Regions from separate parts of the Homo sapiens genome. Here region 2 is linked to region 1. Evidence: promoter capture Hi-C in human tissues and cell types (Jung and others, 2019). All regions are on one chromosome and are shown on one strand. Each heading gives the region's core, a stretch centred on a gene start or on the middle of the fragment in contact. The rest is flanking DNA. Distances are from core to core; before and after follow the strand shown.

Region 1 (6,047 bases), core at 1,663-4,162:
TGTCTAAGCTCTTCCAAAGAAGAAAAAAAAAATTGTCCTCGATTGATTTGGGTCACACAGAGAAATACTGCAGGAGAGCAGTCAAAGGCATGGACACGAGCGTCAAATTATATAGTTTGGAATTCCAGCGCTGCCATATTCAATATGAACTTGGATAAGCAGCCTGACCTCTCTGTGTCTGTTACCTGCACGTAGAGATAGCATATAAAACTCTGACCTCAACACTTGATGAAAATATACAGCAACAAGTGCCAGCTGTCATTACTTAGAGTCATAAAGCTTTAGACTTGGGTGACTTTCAGAAATTAACCCCATCCCTTTTATTGGTAGGGAAACTGAGGAAGAAAAGAAGTAATTTGTCTGAGGGTACATAGCAGATTTTACTACTCAACAGGCTAGGACACTTACCATACCATTGCCAGCCTTTCTAGAGCCTTCTTGGTCTCAGTGCTGCCTTTACTGTTTATGTTTCAGATATGAAAGGCCAGTATTTGGAAGCTGTTTTTCCTCTTAAGTTGATAGATTTATGCTGAGCCATTATCTCACCTGTCCTCTGCACTTAAGCTAGGAGCAGAAAACTAGACAGGATTAAGGATGCCTAGAGATGGGCCTGAATCACAGTGAAGCAAACAGCATTCACCTCAGCCTCACAAACATGGTTGTGGGTAGTGAAGTAATCAGCCTCGCACAGACCTGAAATACAAAACAAAAACACGGGACCCTGCTGACCACAGAACTCATCCCTCCGATTCCCCGCTAATTGTAGGTTGATAGAAACCAGTTGTAATGCAGAGTAAAAGGGCCTGTGCACAAATATATTTACTGAACGCAGAAAATGTCATTTATTTGTTTATTTATTTATTTATTTATTTGTTGAGATGGGGTCTTGGTCTGTTGCCCAGGCTGGAGTGCAGTGGCACGATCTGGGCTCACTGCCACCTCCGCCTCCCGGGTTCAAGCAATTCTCCTACCTCAGCCTCCCAAGTAGCTGGAATTACAGGCGCCCACCACCATGCCCGGCTAATTTTCATATTGTTAGTAGAGACGGGGTTTCACCATGTTGGCCAGGCTGATCTCGAACTCCTGATCTCAAGTGATCCGCCTGCCTCAGCCTCCCAAAGTGTTGGGATTACAGGCGTGAGCCACTGCGCCTGGCCTGAGCCACCGTGCCCGGGTGTTTAATAATACTTTTAATTCTTAAATGTTTGGAACAAAAAAAAGAAGAAAATGAGATTATATGATTCACATGGTACTGCTCTAGTCCTGCAGCAAATTCCAGTGCCTTCTCTGATCAGGGAATTTTTACAAAATCAAATGTGATTGATACATCTTCATCCACACTGACAGGCACCCACAGAACATCCACTGAGACCTAGACAGTAGTACTGACTGCAGGCCCTAACCCTGGGATACAACACGAACATGGTCTTGTCCTAAACAGCTGATAGGAGAAAGACAGTATTCACTGTGTTAATCTCAGTCCAAATTAATTGTCTTCATCTAGCTCCTGTCTTACATTCTTCATTGCTTGTCCCTAAATCCTAGCACGGCCAAGTCCTTTAGTTTTAAGCCTACATGAAAGGCATCCAGGGAGAGCCAGGTGGAAATGAAGGTGGTGGGGCTTGGCCTTTCTTCCCATTCCCACCTTGAGAATTTGCACCTTTCCTTCTCTGTCACCAACTAGCAGTTGCCATGGTATATAAGGGTATATCTTATTTTATCCTTAATATGTTTATTTCTGCTTCCAAGATGCTTCTGTTTTTACTAAAACCATAGAAGCTTCCCCTCCCACCACACTCGCACCACACACAAAAAGCAGTTGGAAAAACATTTCAATGATTCCTAACCACAACAGCACTTCTGACTAACTACAAAGAAGGAAGCTTTGGAGAAACATAGAGGGAAACTACAGTCCCAGCGAGACCGAAACCGGAGGGGTGAGATAGCCAGTCACAGTAAAAGCTGGAACCAGAGCCCAGACTTCCTCAACTCCAGCCCAGTCCTTTTGCCACTGGGGAAACGCTGTTTACATGTCCTCACCTGCGACGAACAACATTTGATAACTCACAAAATTAACACCTTTCAGGGAGAGCGGGGCACTGGCCAGGTCCCTCTGATAATGAATTGCTGCTCTAAGACATAACTGCTGTGGGGAGGAGGTTGGTGTTTGGCGGGGAAGGGCTGCTAGCCTGCAGTTTCATAAGGACAATAATACATCAAAAAGGACAATCATAGATCAAAGGGGATATTTTGGGTCAACTTGATATGTAGTGGAAAGCAGATTGGGAGGGGAGCCAAGTACTGGATATGCTCCGTGCGTGAGTGTGTCTGTGTGTGTGTGTGTGTGTGTGTGTAAATCATGTTGCTCTCTGGGTCTGTTTCCCAATCTGTAGAGTGTAAAAGTCTCTGAGGCTCCTTGCAGAGACAAGTGATGGAACGACCTTGACAGAAGAGAGCAGAGAGAGGAAAGAAGGGGGAGGAAGCCAAGCAAAGGAGAGAGAAATGGTGTGATGGGGGAGGAGACGCGGAGTTGGGTAGAAATGCCTTTTAATAAGATATTGGGAAAAAAGTATTAAACCTAAAACTGCAGCTCTTGAAGGATCATTTTTTCATCTTTGTGTTAGGATTTACAAGTACAGTGCATAGTAATTTTTGGATAATTGGAGTGAATGAATGAAAAGCGTGAAACGCCTTACAGGAGCGAGAAGATCCACGAGAGAAAGCGAGCAGGGACGCAGCTCTGGTGCCTGGTCCTGCCGGGTGGTCCCCACGCCGCCAGCCGCGCGTTCCCCAACCGGGCGCTCCCGGCGCCCTCTCGGTGAGCCGCCCTGAAACCGCCAGGGGGCGCTCCCCGGCTGCCGGGGCTGAGGCGGGCGGAGCTGCTTTAAATCGCGGCGCCCAGCGGTTCTGCGTCTCAGTTCCCGAGCCTGGGAGCAACCGCAGCTTCTAGTATCCAGACTCCAGCGCCGCCCCGGGCGCGGACCCCAACCCCGACCCAGAGCTTCTCCAGCGGCGGCGCAGCGAGCAGGGCTCCCCGCCTTAACTTCCTCCGCGGGGCCCAGCCACCTTCGGGAGTCCGGGTTGCCCACCTGCAAACTCTCCGCCTTCTGCACCTGCCACCCCTGAGCCAGCGCGGGCGCCCGAGCGAGTCATGGCCAACGCGGGGCTGCAGCTGTTGGGCTTCATTCTCGCCTTCCTGGGATGGATCGGCGCCATCGTCAGCACTGCCCTGCCCCAGTGGAGGATTTACTCCTATGCCGGCGACAACATCGTGACCGCCCAGGCCATGTACGAGGGGCTGTGGATGTCCTGCGTGTCGCAGAGCACCGGGCAGATCCAGTGCAAAGTCTTTGACTCCTTGCTGAATCTGAGCAGTGAGTGCACCCCCACCTCACAGCGGCCGTCCAGAGGCCCCAGTCCCCCTGCAGCTCCCTTATGGGCTCATTCTGTTGTGTGATTCCATGGTTATCAGTCTTCAGTTGATCAAGTCTTCTGATCATGTGCTCTGTCATAAGGAAATGAAGAGAATCCTGGTTTGAGGAAAGCGACGCCCAGGCATAAGCTCTAGTTTTGCCTCTAACTCCCTGGGTGACACTTCTGCCACTCTAGGTGTGGCTTCATCCTAAATTCCTATGCTGGTGGTTCGAGTTGAGGGAGTGAAGGCCAAACTTGAACTTGAGCTCTTAGACCTCTCCTAGGCATTCCGAGATTTGGGGTAAATTGAGGATTGGTAGAGTTCAGACAAGAAAATGGGATGACTGAAAAAGTTTGAAGCCTGGTAACTTCTCAAGTGTGCACGCTTAAATAAATAATCCTCAAGTATTAGATATAACTTTTTAACCTTTAATATGATTTTTTCATAGTAAAAGTTACATTCCTACTGGAAATGTCCTATCTAAGTGTCTTCTGCTTATGCTTGAGGTTGATTCTTTTAATTTATAAGATCCAGTTAGTGCAGGGAGGCCCCTTGCAAGACTCTTTGGAGAAGCTGCTTGAGATTCCCCCGAAGTTTTAATTTTCAGACCCAAGGTCTTCTGTAGAGGCTGACGGTGTAGTGCTATCTTGGAAAGAGAAGGTTGGTGGCAGGTGGGGAAAGGCTGACAAGAAAGGTTCTAAATAACCTGCGCAACATAATACAAAGAAAAAAGTAAAGGCACTGAAGGGAAATGCAGCAAAATAGTCATAGCTGATGAAATCAGAGGTCAGCTGGGAGTGGAAGGCAGTGAGAGAGAAAGAAGAGGTGGGTCTTCCTTAGGTTTCCATCTTCCACAAAGAAATTTCTGTGTAATGGATGTTCAGTGACCCCCTGTAAAACTGGAAAGGATTGTATAGAGAGACATATTTCTAAGGATGGTGGGAAGAAGGATAATAGGATAATTGTTTTACTTTGTTTTTTAAATTAAAGGTTTCGAGTTCCTTGTCCGAAAAGTCATTAAATTCCCATTTACTTAGATAATAATGATTCACGGCTGGAGTATCTTCCTTGAGAAATCACATTAATTGTCTTATATCATGTGTCTGTTATGCCCTTTAACTCACTTGAAGAAAAGATCCCTTAGTCTTTGCCTAGATGAACGTGACTGCCCACTGGCCCCCATTGCATGCTAAGGGTGAAAAGTGTTGGCATTGTTCAAGTTTACTTAACTTGTTTTGTCTACCTCCTATCAAGGGACAACTTTTAATAGTGTATATCAAAAGCCATATAGTTTAGAGTTATTAAACCTGTTCCAAATCTGTTTGAACACCTTGAATACCTGTGGCATTTGCTCAGTCAATGTGCATGGTTGTTTTGAGTGTTATTATTTCAGCTTTTGAAGGTTCTCATATCAGGACTTCTTTACACCAAAACCAATCCATAAGTTTAGTAATTATGTGTTGCTCATTGCCCTCAGGGGTTATATTTGTACTTATAAAATGAAAAATTTGGTAATAATTATTGAATTTCTCCATGGAAAGATAAATATATTTAAGGAAACGGTGTCAGGCATTTTAGGTACCACGTTAAGGAATTGGCAGGTGGAGGTTTCTAAGGACAATTCCAGAGAGGTCTCACTGTCAGTTTTATTCCTCTGATCAAAATAGTTCCTTTTCAACATCTTTAAATAGGTTTTCTTTTAACTTCCTGAAATGACCAAATGAAATCAGATTGATCTATGTTGTAAATACTCAAATGGATCATCCTTACACATGATAATGTGTTAAAATGTTTTACTTTCATTTTTTGGTTAATGTAGTTATTACAGTTTTTAAAACTAGGGTGAAAGGACTAAATACCTACCCCCCCACACACACTTTAGAGATGTCTTCCTATTTTTTTAAAACTCCAGATCAGAATCCACTTTTATTTTACTTAAAGCCATAGTTTATCCAAGGTGTGGCTTAGGCCTTTCTCTCAAAACCCATTCTCAGAAGAGGGACCCTTGACTCACAGGTGTTCTCCTCTCACCTGCCGTGACTCACGGGATGCTTTTGGATAGAACCCAGGAAACCTTACTTCATTTCTCTGCCTGAGCAGTGGTGTTTACGCCCACCAGCTGTAGAGATCTGGGATGGTGATTCATTGGCTGGTTTTGGTACAGTTTTGTTACATGTAGAGATGAAAAGGGTTATGTGTGTATATTTAAGCAGTATCACTCAGAAAAAAGCTGCATTTCATTAAGTGTGTTTAGGTGAAAAGCTTAGCTGTGGGTTTCCCGAAATTGTACCTTGCCGTCTTTCCCAGTAGAGCACACTTGTCTTCCCGGCCAGATGCAGGGCTTTAGCACGGGAAGTATTAAAATCTGTTGTTTCCCTGCTTTATGTAGGGTAGGTCATAAAAAGCATATGACCTTCATAAAGTATCTGAAGGAATACAGTGTGCTAATAGTGTATACAGTAAATACAAAATGAGATAGAGCAAGGCTTCTTCTTTTAGGTAGTTCTTGCCAAGCGGTTTATGAAAATGTAACTGAGGCACTTCCTGGGGAAACAAATGTCACATTGTGTATTGTAGTTTTATAATGGCTGATACAATTTCCATTTCATCCAAAGTATGTGATTTTATTGAC
Region 2 (6,047 bases), core at 2,352-4,851, 370 kb after region 1:
TTAGTCAACATATGACACATGTTTTCTAGTCATTTTATATGGTACATTTAGGAGAAGGGAGAACAAAAGGTGAATAAGACATGCTGTACCCCCTCTCTTTATTTTGGTAGAATGGCCACAGAGGAGAGCCAGGGTAGCCTAGAGTTTGACAGTCTTTCTACCTTAACAGTCCCTTTTATAATTATCTGATATCTTCTGCTTTTGAAGGACGAATCAATTTCGAATAGATAAGGCCACGTGCCTTCTTGATTTGAGCCTCATTTCAACAGTGAATTGAGTGTTACCTATATATATGGGAATCTTGCCCTGGGCCTCTCTCATCAGACCTAGGTGCCTTCCCGCATGACGGCAGCGTGATGACATCGGTCCTAATAATCTTATCCAGACCCGAGGTAAACCCTCCTCTCTTATTCCAAGTTTATGTTTTTACCTCTGAGTTACTACCTGGTGGTGGGTGGAGGTAGAAATAGGGAATGGACAATAAGCATTACCTGGTATGTCTCATCTCTTTCCACTTGTTAATCGTATATTCCATTGTTTCAAAGGTTGTAATCGTGGTTGGCTTTATAAAGCTTTTTTATGGTCTTGAAGCACGTAGCAATCATATGTAACTACATAATTATCTTGAGAGACACGTCAATGCCATCTTCATTGTGTAAATGGGAAAAAACAAACAGGCACAGAGAAGGTGATGTCGTAAAGCCCTGGTCATGTATGAATTCATTTCACAGAGAGTTTTTGAGTGGCCGTGCCGTTGTAGGCTTAGGGAGGCATTTAAAGATGAATAAAATGTTATCCCTTCTTTTAAGGAACTCAAAGTGGAAAAAAACAGATGTAAACAAATGATCAACTTAAAGTAAGGTGAATGTTACGGCAGAGGATTGTGATAGGGGTAGGAGGAAAGGTCATGCAAGTGGGAAAGGAGTGGTTAGTGGTAGGGAAAAGTTGGAGAGAAGGTGACAGGTGAGCTGGATCTGGCCTGACTGATCTGCCACCAATACGTGGGAATGAGCCACTTAACCTCTCATTGCATCACAGTGTCCTCAGCTGAAAAGTGTTGCATTTGAACTGAATGATTTCTTGGGTTCTAAAGGACTGAGCCTTCGGAGAAAATGAGAGTTCAGAAAGTTGGTGTTTTGGGGTGGAGTGGAATGAGATAGCCTTCGGAAAGCAGTTTAATGAATGCTGTGAAAATCTTAATAAATACCAGTTAAAGAGTAAGTTTTATTGTATTCACTTGCAAGGGAGGTATTATTCAAGTGGGTAGTGTGAAAGCCCTGAAGGACTGAGCTTCCTTCTGAAAAGCAGAGGAGTAGCTACTATCAGAAATAGCTGACGTGAATTCATCGTTGAGACTAAAGTCAATGGGCTCTACCAGCAGCATATTCCTCTGCCCATAAGTCCATGAAACTTTCTACCCTACATGACCTGGAACTAATCTACTTCACTCAAATTATTAGACTTTCGTATCAGAAATGGGAATAATGACAATATTGCAGCACACAGGTATGTTGTCTGAAAAGCCTAGCATTTGGTAAACTCAGTCAGTCTTTTAATAAAACCCGAAAGCCATGTAATGCTTTACTAATGACATCTTTTCCAATGTCAAACAAGGAACAGAAGGAATCATTGAAAGAAAACCATCTCCAACAGGAGTTAATTGGAGCAATTTACCTCATTTAAAACCAAAGGGTCAAATAGGACATAAAGCAACAAGCATCCAATCACCCTTTTTGTTCTCTGTACCTGTTTTTTGGTGTGTTAAACTTTGCAAATGCCTTTGAAGGTCTTAGGCAATCAGACTACTTAGATTTAGAATAAATTATAGAGTCCCTGAGGCTCAGAAGCTGACTTCAAGGCTTCCGGTCACTGGAGTAATATTCTGGTCTATCACGATAGTCCAGTGTTTAGCAACATTTACTGAATAGATGCTAGAATTTTTATTATATTTCAAGTTCAGAATTTCAGGACTTTTTTTTCACAAGGTAATATGAACCAGAATTATATTTCTTTGAAGTTAACATTGGTTAATTAAATAAAGACTACTTGGAGATTTTCAACCCTTCAGCATCCCAGATAAAGGTGTAAACATCTTTTAGGACAGCTGGATTCTCAGTGGTCTTAATCTGCAATTTATTCTAACTTTAGCTACTTAGTATTAAGTAAAGAACAGGCATGGGCGGTATTGTTGAAGCTCCCTTGCCTAGACAGAGTAAAGATTTCTGGGAAAGTAGTCCACTTCATCGTTTAGCATTGGGTTCACTAAGTTTTTCACGACATCCCAATAGATGTGATGATTATTCTCATATAGTGGAAAAAATAAAACACCAGAATAGATAAATAATTTGACAGAAGTCAAAGTCAGTAGATGTCAGTTCCTCGAGTTAAAAAAAAGTTGCTGAACTCTCTAAGAAGATTTTGCAGTTTTGATGTTTTGAATAACTAGGAAGCAGTAGGAATTATTATGAGCTTATCTGACACTAGATCTCACCCACTCCCCCACACTCCAGTGCAAATCCAGAAGGAGGCGACATCTTCAGCAAGATGGCTGCTGCCACTGCTCTGAGTTGGTTAGACATGATTAAAGCTCTGTCTAAACATGCCCTGGTTTCCTCACAGGGAGCACTTTCAGCCTTCTCTGAACTTCCAGGCCGCAGGGCTAAGCACAGGGTACAGATTTTTCCTTGCAGACGTTTGGCTTCTGAGTGATGTTTTTTTTGTCTCTAAGGGTAATAAAAGTACATCAGATGTTGCTCCCTGTACCAGAAAGTTTGCTTTGAAGAACGCGTGAGCCGCTTCAAAGGCTAGGCATGCTGCAGAGATGGCTGTCCCCGGAGACTGTGAGCTATCGGGGTGTGCCTATTAACTAGGGACACGTTGCCCACCAAGCCACTTACCAGCTAAAGGCTGATTGTCAAAAATGTCAAATGTGACAAATTGGCGTGCCAAAACTGAAAACTGCCCTACCTTCAGAATCAGCATGAAATAAACTATCATGCCTTGAACTCTGTGGTCAAAACATGTCATTTATGTGTAGAAGGATTTACAAATTAAATAGAATGATATTTGAATGACCATCAACGTCAGCACAGAGGGCTTTTCATTATTGATCTGAGGTCAACGTTTAACTCATCAGAGCAGGCTAAACAGGGAAGATCAAGTCCATGGTAGGGACCCCAAGGAAGAATCATAGCCACAATTGTGCTTTGTATTTATAGCTTAGCAAGTGAACGACACTGCAAACAACTGACTCCAAGTTGGAAGGGACCTTAGAAAGCACCTGACCTTATGCCCTTTATTTTAGAGGTGGAGAAATGTGAGTTACTCAACTTTACTGAAATGTTAGTGGTAGAAATATGGACTCAAAACCAGCTCCTCTGACTCCTAGAGCGGCAGACCACACTGAGAAGCTATGGAATTGCAGAGAAGAGTGCAGACTGTGTTACCATGGACTTGCAGCCCTTTCTGCCTTTTACTGGCCTTTAACGCACATCTGTTCAGTGTCTTTATCTATAAAGAAAAGGCTGGTAATATCTATTTCATAAGTTATCTAGAGATTTCATTGGCCAGGCATGATGGCTCATGCCTGTAATCTGAGCACTTTAGGAGGCCAAGGCTGGAGGATCACTTGAGGCCAGGAGTTTGAGACCAGGCTCGGCAACATATGGAGATACTGTCAGGAAGGGAAGGGGAGGGGACGGGAGGAGAGGGGCAGGGAGTGGGGGAGGGGAGGGGAGGGAAGGGGAAGAGAAGGGAAGAGGGAAAGAAGGAAGGAAGGAAGGAAGGAAGGAGAAAGGAAAGAAAGAAAGGAGAAACAAAGAAGAAAGAGAAAGAAGAAAGAAAAAGAAAGAAAGAAAAAGAGTAAGAAAGAAAAGAAGAAAGATTAATTGAGATTATAAAAAGAGAGCCGAACACATAGCAGGTAATCATTAAAAGACAATGACTTGTGACTATATCAGAACACCTAAAATGAAGGAAAATGAATAGGACTGTGAATTCTCTGGCAATATTTCACCTGCTCTCATGACTTTTTTTTTTTTAGTGCATTATCCCTTGATCAACCTCAGAACCTTCAAGGTTAATTTTCATACAGTTACATTTAGAAATAGTCTGATCATATATAACACACTTATTGCTAGGGCAGGGGCACAGGAGAAGAGAAACTTGTTACAAAATTACAAAATTGAGAGTGTTTGAACTCCAAGCTGGTTGTCAATCAGCAGTCCAGAAAAGAGAGGCTTGTCTTGTCTGCAGCCACCTCATTTGGTCCTTCTGACAGCCTAGCTTTCTGTCTGCACTGTGACATTACAGCTACTTTGTTTGTGCCAAGCACCTTGAAAGACACAATTTTTACCTATTTCCTTTTACTGAGCTTTCTGTCACTTGCTTTTCAACTGTGTAAAAAACAGAATCGTTAGTCAGCAGCAGAGGGCACTATTAGCATATTTTGCTGTGAGGGGTTAAAAATAAAAAAGAAAGATGCCTCTATGCATTCATTCATTCGTTCATTTTAGCAAGTCTTGATTTAACATCTACTATGTTCTCAGCATTTAGAGAAATGCTAAACAAGCATGAGATGTTGCATTTATAGTCCAGGTGGGAACATGATATGAAATGATACATGTGGTACATGCCTGAATGCAAAGGGTATATGTTTTGGAGGTTTTTGAGGACAGCAGAGTTCAGTTCGGTAGGCTAGTGTGACCCAGGAAGTATTTGGCAGGAAGTTAGTCTAGAGTTGTTTCTTAAATGACGAGTATGATATGGAGTGGTAAAGATAAAATATATAAAAGATAAAATAGACAACATTAAAAAAATCAGTAAGTCATGCATTGCCATGAATATCAACACTAATTGTTGACAACCACTACCCTGACAAGTATTACTTACCTCTACTGCTTATAATAGTCATCGTGGCTCACACGGGTAGCTGCTTTCACAACCATGATGTCATTTTGCCCTTGCTGTAATCCTGTGACTTCAGCTCTATAGGTATTATTATCCTAATTTTACTATGAGAAAATCAAGGCTTTTAGAGGGAAAGTGACTAGCTTAAGCTCACACAGTCACTAGTACTGCTGGGATCCAAAACTGGTTTTCCTCCCTGCTACTGCAGCAGGAAACCATAAATTTGTAACATAGACTCCTCTGGAAAAGAGGGTTTGGGATGTGAAATTAAAAGGAAAAGTCACAGCTGTTAGGCTACCTACAGGTTACCGAGGGCTTGATCGAAAGCTAAACTGAGGCATTGGGGCTTGATCCTGTAAACCTCAGGGAGGATTCTGAAGTTTGGGAGAGCTCGACACAGGTGGTTATAGATTGTAGTTGTTAGATTAACAAAGTCAGCCTGAGAAGGATTGGAGGAAAAAAGGTCAATTGTCAGGGATACCAATAAAGCAAATGTTACACTAATCAAGAGTTGAGTGGGAGGGAATTTGGGAGTAGTCTGCCCCAGTGGGAAGGAGATTTTATCTTTGTCATTGTCTATAGTTGCTGGCACATAGAAATAATACAAGGCAGGCTAATTTCGAATTGGTTTTGTATTGGTTTTAGACCTCTAAAGACAACACCTCGTCATTGCCTGCACCCAGGGGTATCCAATCCTACTGATTGCCTAGCTTAGTCCACCACTGCCAAGGCACATGTGAGGAAGCCTGAGGCAGGCTGGCAGCCGTGGAACTTGCGGGTAAAGGACTAAGCAGAGACATCCTGAAGGAAAAACAAATCAGAACTTGGAGGCTGTCAGAGTCACCAAGAAGAAAAGATAAAAATTATGTCTCTGAGCTGTTGAGCCTAAGAAAATAATGATGTCAGTGATGCAAGCAGAGAAACGAGGGAAAACATCAACTAGTTTCATAGGGAATTTGACCTTATTACACAGAAGGACTCCCAAGTAGCAACTGAACACTTAGCTGGAATGTTTTCGTATAAATGTATTTCCTACTCTGTTTAGTGATTTCTTGCTTGTCATCTTTTTCTTTACCTGAAAACTTATAAATTACTTGTAATAGCTCTTCTACAGGTAAATTAACAGAGGTGACAGGTAA

Evidence for each region. Contacts are between HindIII fragments. The study calls those that stand out against the background at their distance.
Region 2: a contact is called between a fragment that was not itself captured here and the fragment with the promoter of CLDN1 in region 1, in 2 of the 25 tissues and cell types used here (lymphoblastoid cells and mesendoderm cells).

The regions. Positions count from the first base shown.
Region 1 is chr3:190,319,311-190,325,357 of GRCh38, reverse strand. It overlaps CLDN1 (claudin 1), which reads left to right and starts at 2,912. Exons shown (of 4, transcript NM_021101.5): 1 at 2,912-3,374. The coding sequence starts at 3,152. It also overlaps a transcript of CLDN16 not described here. RefSeq lists a silencer at 2,762-2,921. The HindIII fragment of the contact is 5,719 bases long and covers 1,030-6,047 here.
Region 2 is chr3:189,947,028-189,953,074 of GRCh38, reverse strand. No RefSeq gene overlaps it. Among named protein-coding and RNA genes, the nearest start is that of MIR944, 120 kb to the right of the region's middle. The HindIII fragment of the contact is 8,182 bases long and covers 1-6,047 here.